Regions from separate parts of the Homo sapiens genome. Here region 2 is linked to region 1. Evidence: promoter capture Hi-C in human tissues and cell types (Jung and others, 2019). All regions are on one chromosome and are shown on one strand. Each heading gives the region's core, a stretch centred on a gene start or on the middle of the fragment in contact. The rest is flanking DNA. Distances are from core to core; before and after follow the strand shown.

Region 1 (6,827 bases), core at 2,287-4,786:
CTCACCTACCCAGCCTCCAATTCATCTGAGTACTGAGTACCAAGACACTGAGATAAGAGAGATAAAAGACACAGTTCTTGTCCTTGAGTTAGGTAAAAAGGTGGAGGAAAGGGCCTTCCTGGGGGGTAGAATCATTGGGTAAAAGACAGATATGAGTAACAGTTGGGCACAGTGGGGGTGGGGTGAGAGATGAAGCCCTCAGGAAGGTCTTAGCTAATCATGGAGGGCCTTGAAGCCTTGCTAAGAGATGGGTTTTATTCCAAGGTGACAGGGAGTGATATAGCAGAGACAGAGTCTCCTGTCACTTCTATAAAAGACTTATCCTGTGGCTTTGGAAAATACCACGCTTTCCTGTAGGAAGAGAACAGATGAACCTAAGAACCATGTAGACAAGTAATACTTCATTTGAAATAGAATTCATTTATAAGGAGTAAATCAAGATTAACATGTTTAAGAAGCTAAGCTTATTTATGTTCCTCACTGGCCTAGCTCAAGCACTTCTGCATGGTAAAACCTGGTGATTGGCAGGTCTTCCTTTCAAAACCCCAAGCAGCAGTTAGCATCCCCTGGAGCTTCATTCATCAAAAGCACAGAAATAGAGCGCCAGTTCCAACACTGTGTAAGACCATCTCCTTCAGAGTCAGAGGCGAGACCCAGCACAGGTGAGGTGGACGGTTGGATCGGACTCCGCCCAAAGGTCACAGCCCCACGTATGCTCTCAGTGGCCATCTCCCTTTCTGTCCCTCTGCCCAGCCTCTCCCCACCTGCAGGCACACAGGCATATCTCCCACTCTTTCTAATCAGCATTTTAACCATAATGTGAACTTAAGTGCATTAGAAACCTTCCCTTTAAATTTGGAATGAAGAACTGTGGCCCAGTTTGGAAAAACTTCAGCTTTAAACAGCATATGGCAGGTGTGTGTGTGTGTGTGTGTGTGTGTGTGTGTGTGTGTGTGTAGAGAGAGAGAGAAACAGAGAGAGAGAGAGAGAGACAGACAGACAGACAGACAGACAGAGTCTCCCTCTATCTAGCCCAGGCTGGAGTGCAGTCATCATCGCTCAGTGCAGCCTCAACCTCCCTGGGCTCAGGTGATCCTCTCACCTCAGCCTCCCAAATAGCTGGAACTACAGGTGCACACCACCACACCAGGCTAATTCTTGTATTTTTTTGTAGAGATGGGGTTTCGCCATGTTGCCCAGGCTGGCCTCAAACTCCTGGGCTCAAGTGATCCACCTGCCTTGGCTTCCCAAAGTGTTGGAATTACAGGCATGAGCCACCATTCCCAGCCCCTGAAGTGTCTTTTTGAAAAGAGGAGCCTCTTTGACCTTATTTAAAGTGGACTATGTAGACGGCCCACTTCTCTACCTGCAAGAGGACAACTCTACTGCCACCTCCGCCACACCCCACTGCAGCCTGTCCTAGCAGAAGGGAGATCCTCACACACTCAATGAACTTCTCTCTAGCATCTGAACCAGAATTAAACCTAGCTTAATCCTGGCTCAGAAGAAGTCTTTACTAAGGATTCATCTTCAAATCTGGGGATCAGCATTACCATTTTTATTAAAACTACATTTAGTAAAAACTGTTCACAAATGTTTATCATAAGAAGAATTTTAGAAACTCATTTTTGAGACCGGGCACAGTGGCTGACGCCTGTAATGCCAGCACTTTGGGAGGCCGAGGTGGGTGGATCACCTGAGCTCAGGAGTTCGAGACCAGCCTGGCCAACATGGAGAAACCCCGTCTCTACTAAAAATACAAAAAATTAGCTGGGCATGGTGGCGAGTGCCTGTAATCCCAGCTACTCCGGAGGCTGAGGCAGGAGAATCGCTTGAACCCAGGAGGTGGAGGTTGTAGCGAGCTGAGATCGCACCACTGCACTCCAGCCTGGGCAACAGAGTGAGACTCTTGTCTCAAAAAACAACAACAACAACAACAAAAATCCATTTTTAAGGTTCCCATAAAAATGGGTGAAAGTGGAATTTAAGATCATAAAATCTAATTTTCATGCACAAATACAAACATTCGCCAGACCATCTTTACTGTACCATATGACCATTTACTCGGTCAAAAGGAAATCCACTCATCTCCCTGGATCCCCCGAAGGCTATGCAAGGGGTCCACTGTGCTTCCAGAGTACAGAGGATGCTTAAAGTAACAGATTCCTCAAACTGTGTTGTGGGAAGTTTAAGCGGCAAATGATTAATAAAAGTAATCAATGTCAATGTAGTTTGAATGCTTACAATGATCCTACTACGAGCGGAAACCATTTCCTCATTTCTTTCTTCTCGTTATGAAAATGAGCTCCCCCCACGGGGTTGCCTTGGGCCACCTCCCTTCCTAGGGCGTATTTGCTTATTTGTTTATTTGAGACGGAGTCTCACTCTATCGCCCAGACTAGAGTGCAGTGGCATGATCTGGGTTCACTGCAACCTCCGCCTCCTGGGTTCAAGCGATTCTCCTGCCTCAGCTTCCCAAGTAGCTGGGATTACAGGCATGTGCCACCACGCCCGGCTAATTTTGTATTTTTAGTAGAGATGGGGTTTCACCATGTTGGCCAGGCTGGTCTTGAACTCCTGACCTCAGGTGATCCACCCGACTCAGCCTCCCAAAGTGCTGGGATTACAGGCATGAGCCACCGCGCCCGACCCCTCATGCTTCTTTCTACCCATTCTCAAAATTCTTCAGTGAGGTCCTCCAGGACCAGGAAGGTGCTCTACGGACTTGGGAGGGTGCACTTAATAGGCTAGTTACTGAATCGTGGCCGTTTCCCACTTTGCATCTCCGGCAGCTTGACCCCTACTCCAGGGCCAACTTTTCCCAAAAGCCCAGGCCAGGTGCAGCCTGAACGTGGCTTTCCTCCGCCCCTGACTCTGCTTCCCTGTAAGAGCTGAAAAACATGCACGGCTGTCACTCTAGAAATAATTAGAGAAGTTGCTGATTGTCGAGGGCAGAAGGAGCTGAACGGCTTCCACCTCAGCGCGTTCCCCTTGGTGCTGACTCGCTCGGGAAAGGGGAGTCCTCGGTGCCCTCGCTAAGTAACCCTGGGATGCTGAGGGGCGTTGCCAGGCCCCTGGTCAACAAGAGGGCTCAGCCCCACGCAAGAGGTGAGCCGGGAGCGGATGACACCTGCCCAGGTGACTAGGGACCAGGCCTCCGGCTCAAGGAGCGCATCAGGAGCTGGGGCCAAGGCCGGGGTCTCCTCCCCTTGCCAGCAAGGATGAGAGCACCTGCCATCTGGCCGGCACCCTCCCCTGGGCCCGAGGCTCCTGCCCTCGGAGGGGCGAGACGGGGGAGCTCCGTGGACTCTGCAATTCATGAGACTTCCACGAGGAACAAAGGTCTCCGTGCCGGCCTCGGGTCCCGGTCTCGGCGCCCTGACTACCCCGGGGCCCAGGGCGCGGCGCCCCGGCAGGCACGGAGCCAGAGAGCGGGCGGAGGGCGCGGAGGAGACGGTGGTACCTGTGGGTGGAGACGGCAGGCATCCCTGTCCCCGCTGGGCTGCTGCCTGCCCGGCCGCGGTCCCGGCTGCTGCAGCATCACCCGGGGCGGGGCGCTGACGTCACGGCCGCAGCCTCCGCATCCGCGCGGGGCCCGGAGCCTTAAAGCGGCGCCGCGTCTGGGGCCCCGCGGGCGGGAGGGGAGCCCGGTGTCCTCCTGGGCCCTTCCCGCGGGAGGCCCGTCCCGGTGCTTCGCGCACGACGGCGCGGTCTGCAGGATCTGCCAGGATCCCGGAGGAAAACGTCCCCCCGGCCTCACAGTTCTCACCGTTTTCTTCTGATTTTAAAAGAAATAAATACATTTTCGTGTCTTCATGTATAAATAGATACCCATGTGTTCGCGGATACGTGAATGCCGCAGTGCGTGTGCCAAGCCTGTGCCCATGTGCGCAGTGGGGCAGCCGGGCCTGCTGGAGGCGTCGCGACTCTGGGCCCGGAGCTGTCCAAGGCACTGGGGATGCCGCAAGAACAAGGCAAAGTTCCCGCCCCTGGGGGAACTTTGTAATGTAAGTAAATACATAAATACTTTATGTATTTATTATTTACTTCATTTTTTAAAATACAGAGAGGCAGGGCCTTGCTATGTTGCCCAGGCTGGTCTCGACTCCTGGGCTCAAGTGATCCTTCTGCCTCGGCCTCCCAAAGTACAGGTGTGAGCCACCGCACCCGGCTGCATGACATTTAAGAGAGAGACACACACACATTAAACAAGACATAAAATAAATGGTATGTCAGAAGATGGCAATGCCCTAGAGAAGGGGTTAGGGAGTGTGGGGCTGCAGAGGCGCTGGCCTTGCAGGTTTCTATCAGGTTGTTGGCGAGTCCTCACCTGGAAGGTGACACTAGAAGGAGGATTTGCGGAGCAGGCCGGGCACGGTGGCTCACACCTGTAATCCCTGCGCTCTGGGAGGCCGAGAGGGGCAGATCACCTGAGGTCTGGAGTTCGAGACCAGCCTGGCCAACATGGCAAAACCCCCATCTCTACTAAAAATATAAAAATTAGCCACACGTGGTGCTGGGTGCCTGTAATCTCAGCTACTCAGCTGAGGCAGGAGAATCGCTTGAACCTGGGAGGCAGGGGTTGCAGTGAGCTGAGATCGTGCCACTGCACTCCAGCCTGGGCCACAGAGTGAGACTCCATCTCAAAAAGAAAAGAAGGACCTGAGGAGCTAGGGGGGCCAGCCAGACTGACGTGTGGGGAAGGTCACGCCAGGCACTGGGAAGAGCAAGTGCAAAGGCCAGGGGCAGAAGTGAGCTGGGCTGAGTCCAATAATTACGGATGAAATAATTATGCAGCTGGTAGTGGAATAATAACCCCAGGGAAGCGCTGCAGAGTGGGGGCACGGGGCCCTGTGGAAGTTTACCGCGGCGGATTCCACCCCATTGGGAGGGTCGAGGGCTCCTCAAGGAGCCCTACCAGGCCAAGTAGAGAGAACAGCATGTCCCACACAGAGGGCTCAGAGAGCTCTGCACTGGCAGAGCTCCGGAGGGGAGAGGGCCTGGAGGCACACTGCAAAGGAAGTGGAGGGGGACAGGGATGCAGAGGCCTGGGAAGGAGGTGAGGGCTGGGGAGGTGGGACAGGCCCAGGTGTGGCCTCTTAGGCAGTTGCCAGTTTCTAAGAGCAAAGAGAAGCCTAGAAAGGTTTTATGTAGGGGAGTGGATGGCATGAATCCTATTCACAGTTAGCAAAGATCATAAAGCTCAGAGTGAAAACAGATTGGAGGGAACCAGGGGACCACATGGGCGTACCGGGTGGCACAGGTGGGAGAGTTGGGGGTGTTGGTAGAGGGAGAGAGGTGATGGACTGGCCGGGGACTTAGGACTCCATGATTGACTGAAGGTGGGGGGGTACAGGAACAGCGAGGGTGGTGCTAAGAAGTTTCTAGCTTGAGCGATGAGGGAAGAGAGTGGATTCATGGAGGCCAAAGCAGGTGTGTGCTGGAGTGAATGCCATAGGTTTGCTTTGGGATATGCTGAGCTTGAGGGCCTTCGCAGCCTCTAGGCCACCAGACACTTGGGTCTGGAGCTCAAAGATGCTCCTTTATGAGTCCCCTGCACATGGGAGCTAATTGCAGGTGAACTGTGGACCTCGCACTGCCAGGGAGAGGCGCAGGGCAGAGGGCCCCAGAGGACACCATGGGAATTTCAACAGATCCTGCCCAGGCTGAAGAGAAGGAGCCACTGGAGGGGGCTGGTTCTGGCTTCTTTTATCTCTATAACAGGGTAACAGCTTGAAAAAAATACCGATGTCCTTTTCTATTTTGCATGCAAGTGGCCTGCCATCAACTGATGAGCTTCAGCACCTCAGGGACTTAATGCAATAGAAGCTTACTTCCACATGAGGTTGGCAGAAGTGTGCCTGATGGGTGGGGACCTCTGTGAAGCCATTCAGGGATCCCGGTTGCCTCCATCTTGCTCTGCCCTGGTGCACTGAGGGAGGAGCCCAGGTGGTGCCTGCCCACGGGGCCAGGTGTGCAGGAGGCCCACGTTCCACTCGAATCCCATTGGCTAGGACCCTGCCACACAGCCACACCGGCCACACCCAACCCACAACAGGGCTGAGAGATGGGGCCCCTGTCCCCAGGAGAGGAGGAGATGGGGGTGGGGAGTTGCTGGCTTCAACTGCTTCTGTAACTTTTAGCTGCTTGCAGAGGGGAGAGAAGATGGGGAATGCTGAGAAAACTTAAAGATCATCTCGAGGTTCTGATGTTCACAACGGGATTTTGCAACAAGAGAAGAGGTTTGAAATCTAAGCATTGTTGAGAAAGAAAGGGATTTTGAAAATTCCTTTGACCTTTTTTAAACTTCCAAAGTGAGAACCTTCTAAGGCTAGAGCTTTTGCTTTTTAGCCCCTCCAAGTTCAGGGCAGAGAGCAGTGTTTCTCCCTGGGGGCAGACAAGATTTCTCCTGTCTCGACAATAGGTCTAGACTGGGGGCCAGAGTGGAAGGGGCTGACAGAACATGCAGGAAAGACAAGAGACGCTCGCCCTTCCGGTCCTGGGTGTGGGGGAAGGATGGCAGAGGGAGGAGGGAGAGTGAGGGGGAGGAAGGTGCTTGGGGTGCATCCCAGCTCCTTTCTCCCTGCGCCTCAGCCCTGTCGTGGCAGAGTTTGCTCTGGGCAGAGCCCCCGTACACCAACACAGCGGCCGCAGCCCGGCTGGGGGATCAGAACAGTGGGGGCTCTAATTTGCCCTGTGAGGCTCTTGTGGCTCCCATTCAGTGCCTGGATGCAGAGCTGAAGCTGCAATGGCCCCGTGGGGCTGGGACATGACGTGGGGTGGGGGGACCCTCAGCCTCACTGTGGGAAGGACAGTTGGGCCAGGTG
Region 2 (6,827 bases), core at 1,469-3,968, 250 kb before region 1:
TTTGTGTTGCTAAAAATTACTTTACTGTGTTACCAACTCTACACTCAGGGTTTAATTCAGACAGCAGTGGTACAAAAAGCATATCACCAGGAGAGGGCGGAATATTGCTAGATTCACATAAATTAGGTATATTAGTCATTATAAAAGATATGATTCAGTTAACATTGTAAGCTAATATCTTTCTTTTTCTTAAAGGTTTTGTTTAATGATGCCAGTTTTCTCAGGTAGGAAGCAGTATCATTTTTGAAATGGCCAGAAAGTTGCCTGGAATAGCGGAAATTATCTAGGTTATTATTTTCTGCATGCTTTCAGCTTCAAGGGTTCACCGTTGTTTTAAAGTAGTATACCTTTTTAATGTAGACAAATACTTGTTTGAATCAAGCTTTAAATATTTCTTTTATATCCTGAGCTCAGTTTTTGGAAAGATACCTTAAATTTGACAATGAGAGCTTCCTATTTAGATTTTTCTTCTTGTGTAACTTCTGCTCTCTACTGGAATGTCTGGAGTGTTTGGTTGTATAAATAATAATGAAATCTTTTTTAATAGTATCTGACATCTAAATGAATTTGTGCCTTAAAATCTCTAGTCATTGTGCTGTTTCGGGAGCATACTTTTTATTTAAATGATTGTGTCTAAAAGAGAGGGCACCTGGAGCCATCTGTGCAGCTTGTCGACTTCATCTCAGAGACCAGCCATTCTTAACTATGGTCCAGGGGTCTGTAGGGTTGAACTGTTTTCATAATGATACCAAGACGTCATTTGCTTTTTTTCACTGTCATTCTCTCAGGAGTGTACAGTGCATTCCACAAAAGGCTAAATGATGTGTGATATAGCTCAACAGATTGAATACAGAAGCAGAAGTAGATATGGGAATCTGTTTTCTTATTAAGCCAGAAGTAAAAGAGATTTGCAGAAATAAAAGTGTTACTCATTTCCTACATTATGTTCGTTCTAAAAATTATAGTTATTTGTTATAATTATTTATGTTAACACGAGCATGTAGTGGGTTTATTACTGTTATTAATGAATTCATAAATTACAAAAAAATTTATTTTTTTATTTTTATTATTATTATTTTTTGAGATGGAGTCTCACTCTGTCGCCAGGCTGGAGTGCAGTGGCGCAATTTCACTTTCACCTCCACTTCCCCGGTTCAAGCAATTCTCCTGCCTCAGCCTCCTGAGTAGCTGGGACTACAGGCACGAGCCACCATGCCCAGCTAATTTTTGTATTTTTAGTAGAGACGGGGTTTCACCATGTTGGCCAGGATGGTCTCGATCTCTTGACCTCGTGATCCGCCCGCCTCAGTCTCCCAAAGTGCTGGGATTACAGGCATGAGCCACCGCACCCAGCCAGAAATTTTTTTATTTTTAAATACAGTAAGTACTGATAAGCTATAACCCATGTTCTTTGACTCTTTAATAATTTTTAAGAATCTAAGGAATCTTGAAGCTTAAGATGTTTGAGAGGTCCTTCTGTAAAAAGTGTATTGAGTCAATAAAATATTTTCTTTTTTTTTAAGACAGGGTCTAGCTCTGTCACCCAGGCTGGAGTGTGGCAGTGCCATCATAGCTTATTGCAGCCTTTAGCTGTTGGGCTCAGGAGATCCTACCGCCTCAGTCTCCAGAATAACTGGGACTACAAGAGCATGACACCATGCCTGTCTAATGTTTAAATTTTTTGTAAAGGCAGAGTCTGACTTTGTTGTCCAAGTTAGTCTCAAACTACTGGGCTCAAGCGGTCTTCATGCCTCTGCCTTCCAAAGTGCTGGAATTACAGATGTGAGCCACTGTGCCCAACCTCAAGGAAATATTATCATGGTAGCTCATCATCGGTTTTTAATTGTAAAATCTCTGCCATGTATCTTTAATCATAAGTTGGTAAGTCTTACTTATAAAATAATGTGATGTTAAATAATGTGAGAAATTCCCCACCCTTTCTTTGACATCCTGCTCATTACCGCAAAGTCTGACCCCACCATTGATGTGTGGTTGAGCTCTGTAACTTTTCTGGCTATGTCATGTGTAAGAAGTCATTAATTCCCTCCAAATGAATAATATCACTGCCATCACCGCCGTCACCAAACAACAACCAAAGTATTATTACAAAAATGTCAAATTTTGTGATATTTGTACTCTTTTTTTTTTTTTTTTGCTTTTAAAGAAATTTAATGGACTGTTTAAAGCTTTAGTAGGGATTAAGGGGGAATTTGACAATTTCTTATTACACTCTCTACGAATAGCTATTTTTTTCTTCCTTTATGGGAGAAATCCTTTGGACCAAAGAGAAAATTTGTGCTTCAGAATGTTGATCTGATAAAACCAGAGCTGCTGGGAGAATACTGTTTAGAATGGGATTCATTTTTGTGTTTGGTCAGCAGATTTTGGAGGTCCAAGGGTAGGATTTTAATTTATCTGCGAAATTTCGTCTTGCCAAATTGACCCTTCAAAACTGAACTTTTAAAGCTGAATCTGACATTTAGTATTTGTCAGTGTATTAGTCAGGGTTCTCCAGAGAGACAGAACCAATTGGCTGGCTGGCTGGCTGGATAGAAAGATAGACAGATGGATAGACAGACAGATGAGAGGGGATTTATTAAGGGAATAATAAATCTCACTCCATCATAGAAGCTAAGTCCCATGATAGCCATGTCTTAGTCTTTTTTTCTGAATACCTGAGACTGGGTAATTTATAAAGAAAATAAATTTATTATAGTTCTGGAGGCTGTGAAGTCCCAGGTCAAGGGGCTGCATCTGGTTGGCCTCTGGGGAGGGCTTTGTGCTGTGCCATAATGTGGTAGAAGGCATCCAGGACAGTAGGGCTCACAAGAGAGAGCCAACCTGGTTTTTATAAGAGACTCACTCTTGTGATAAGTCGTTAACCCATGAATGCATCAATGAATTAATGAGTTATCAGGCTCCTTGTGATCTAATCACCTCTTAAAGGCCTCACTTGTTAATACTGTTACATTGGGGATTAAGTTTCAGAATGAGTTTCTGAGGGTGACAAACATTTAGACCATCGCAGGCCATCTGCAAGCTGGAGATGCGGGGAAGCTGATAGTATGGCTCAGTTCAAGTTCAAAAGCCTCAGAACCAAAGGAACCTATAGTACAACTCTGTCTGAGGCTGAAGGCCAGAGAGCCTGGGGGGCCGCTGGTGTGAGTCCTCAGTCCAAAGGCTGGAGGACCTAGAGTTCTGATGTCCAAAGGTAGGAGAAGAAAGGTGTCTTAGCTCTTGGAGAGAGAGCAAAGTCTCCTTTTCCCTGCTTTTTTTTGTTCTGTTCTGGACCCCAGCCGATTAGATGCTGTCCCACCTACATTGAGGGCAGATCTTCCCACACAGGCTACCATCTGACACACCAGTCTCCTCTAGGAACACCTGTACAGACACACCCAGAAATAATGCTTTACCAACTATCTAGATGTCCCTTAATCCAGTTCAGACACCTGATATTAACCCCACAGTCAGGTTGAAGTACATTGTGGGATACTTTTGGGGAGCTACAGAAGTGCTCTTTAGTTTGCTATGTCTGTCCCTATCTGCTAAGTCCCCTTGACGTACAGTTTATCTCTGTGTGTGTGTGATATTAAGGACAACAGAGGTCATCTAGTTACCCAGCCTTGTAGTTTACAGATGAGGGCAAGAAGTACAAATATTCCCAAGGTTTTACCTGTGCTTAGTTTTGGCCTCTCTGCTACAAACAAATACAAGAATGAATTGTCTGAAAATTTCAGTGTTCATACACAATATAATCCTAAGTAGAAAATCCTTAATGAGTTTTGACTCCTTAGCTAGCATTTCAGAGATGATTTAGTTTTCATGCACTGTTTTAGTTCCTACCAAAATATTGGTTGATTTTTCTCCATATTAAAGTGTAAAAATAATTTAACAGCGGCAGAAGTTTAACAAACAAGGCATCATCAAGAAACAGTGGTTTTGAAATTATTGCCCATCATCTGAGCCTGTGCTTCAGTACATTCATAGTTACATCATCTTTCTGAGTGTTTGTATGTAGCCAGTTATTTGTATATCTTGATTGTAAACACTGTGAATAGTCATCTGCCTTCCTACCATTCCCCCTTCATGCTTCAACATCTGATAGAAGGTGATTTAAATCCTTTCACACAGACCCAGATGCTGATGTTATCTCTTGACAACAGTCTTTTGAATTGAATACCACTCATAGGTTTTGAAAATGAGCCTCTAACCTTGATCCTAGTGCCTACAAGCAGTAAGCAGCCTAGTCAGATGGATGTGGCCATGGTCTTCTATTTCTTTCATCTACTTAACTTCTCTTTAAAAATTCATTATGCTAGTTCTGGCCGGGTGCGGTGCCTCACACCAGAAATCCCAGCACTTTGGGAGGCCGAGTCAGGCGGATCACGAGGTCTGGAGATCAAGACCATCCTGGCTAACACGATGAAACCCCATTTCTACTAAAAATACAAAAAATTAGCTGGGTGTGGTGGCACATGCTGTAGTCCCAGCTACTCAGAATGCTAAGGCAGGAGAATTGCTGGAACCCTGGAGGCGGAGGTTGCAGTGAGCCGAGATCGCACCACTGCACTCCAACCTGGGTGACAGAGTGAGACTCCGTCTCAAAAAAAAAAAAAAAATTACTATTCCAGTTGTGAGCAGATCCCTCCAGAAGTCTGCTATATATTGGATGTACCAGTAGTTCCAGGTATACCCATTTGGAAATGCTAATAAATGTGATGTTACCACCAACAGGATTCTGTGTCCCATTTAATTTTTGTTTTCAGGTTTTTTTTTGTTTGTTTTTTGTTTTGGAGACAGAGTCTTGCTCTGTTGCCCAGGCTGGAGTGCAGTGGTGCCATCTCAGTTCACTGCAACTTCCGCCTCCTGGGTTCAAGCAATTCTCTGCCTCAGCCTCCCAAGTAGCTGGGATTACAGGCGGTCGCCACCACACCCGGCTAATTTTTGTATTTTTAGTAGAGACGGGGTTTCATCATCTTGGCCAGGCTGGTCTTGAACTCCTGAACTTGTGATCCACCTGCCTTGGCCTCCCAAAGTGCTGGGATTACAGGTGTGAGCCACCACACCCAGCCCAGGTATTTTATTTTGTTTTATTTTTCCTCTACCTGCCCCTTGTTTTAAGGTATTTTAGAAATGGGAGTTGTGTGGCCACCTGAGGGGAGCTGTGCCACAGCCGTGGTCCTTCCATAGGTGGATTCAGGCCCCACTGAGAGTGGATGCAGAAGACGACCCTGTGGATTTTTAGGTCTGTTCAGTTCCAGCGCTACACTAAAATACACCAAGGTTGGGAGAAGGTGTTCCAGGATCAAACAAGAGTGGATACTTTATCAATGGCAATAAGAAATTTACTTGCGAGGCCTCACTCTGCCCTCTCAAAATGAAACAAAATGTTTAATGACTCAGTGCATTTGGGAGATGTGTATAGGATGGTGTAATTATAAAGTATATTCAGTCCTTTCTTTCTCCTGAGAAGAGTCTGTGGAGTCAGTATTTCAGTTTTTCCCCTTACCCACTGGTCCCCATGTCAGAGCAGAACCCTGGGATACATGAACCTTGATGGCCTGAGGCCTGGTGGTATACTCTGCTTTAGGTTTTTCTATACCTCTTTCCTGGCGTTTTGAGCTGTAATGGCTGTAAAGTTATATGGATAATATATATAGATATGTAAAATTCTTAGATCCTTTTTGTTTGTTTGGTTTTGAGACAGAGTTGCGCTCTTGTTGCCCAGGCTGGAGTGCAGTGGCACGATCTCCGCTCACTGCAACCTCCACCTTCTGGGTTCAAGCCATTCTACTGCCTCACTCAGCCTCCCGAGTAGCTGGGATTATAGGCACCCACCACCACACCCAACTAATTTTTGTATTTTTAGTAGAGACAGGGTTTCACCATGTTGGCCAGGCTGGTCATGAACTCCTGACCTCAGGTGATCCACCTGCCTCTGCCTCCCAAAGTGCTGGGATTCCAGGCATGCGCCACGGTGCCCGGGCATTCTTAGAGTCTTATGTTAAATAGGGTAGAGGCTTGAAATATTACAAGATATTTCCTATCTAATTTCATTTTTAAAATTTCATTTTGTTGTAAGCTGACAACTTATAATTGTATATATGTATGGAGTACAAAATGATGTATGATTCATTAATACAATGTAGAATAATTCAAGCTAATTATCATTTTTTATGATGGCAACATTTGAAATTTACTCTCTTACCAATTTTGAAATGTACAATACACTGTTATTAACTATATTAATCATGTTGTGCAGTCGATCATTTAAAAAACCCAGTTATTCTTCTTTACTGAGATTTTGTACCCTTTGAGCATTAGCTCCCCATTCCCCCCACTGCCCAGCCTCTGTAACCACTTCTCTTCACTTCTGTGAGTTGGGTTGTTTGAGTCCACATGTAATAAGCACATGTGGTATTTGTCTTTCAATTCCTGGCTTATTTAACTTAGCATAATATTCTCCAGTTCAATTCATGTTGTTGCAGATGACAGGAGTCTTCTTTTTAAAGACTGAATAGTAGTTTTATATATATATATACACACACACACACACACACACACACACACACACACACATACACATATACACACACATACATACACACACACCACATTTTCTGTCTCCATTCATTGTTGATAGGCACTGAGGTTGATTCCCTAACTTGTTTATTGTGAATAGTACTGTGATAAACTTGGGAGTGCAGGCTTCTCTTTGACAAACTGATTTTAAATATTTTGGTAAATTCACAGAAGTGGGATTCCTGGATCTAATTTCATTTTAATTGAATTAAATTTAATTTCAGATATTTATCCATGAAGTTGGG

The links. Contacts are between HindIII fragments. The study calls those that stand out against the background at their distance.
Region 2: a contact is called between a fragment that was not itself captured here and the fragment with the promoter of SLC45A1 in region 1, in 2 of the 25 tissues and cell types used here (hippocampus and pancreas).

Annotation. Positions count from the first base shown.
Region 1 is chr1:8,314,823-8,321,649 of GRCh38, reverse strand. SLC45A1 (solute carrier family 45 member 1) reads right to left here and starts at 3,536. Exons shown (of 9, transcript NM_001080397.3): 1 at 3,464-3,536. RefSeq lists a silencer at 3,427-3,706. The HindIII fragment of the contact is 6,823 bases long and covers 1-6,536 here.
Region 2 is chr1:8,564,585-8,571,411 of GRCh38, reverse strand. All of the region lies in intron 4 of RERE (arginine-glutamic acid dipeptide repeats), which reads left to right. Among named protein-coding and RNA genes, the nearest start is that of SNORD128, 73 kb to the right of the region's middle. The HindIII fragment of the contact is 3,600 bases long and covers 919-4,518 here.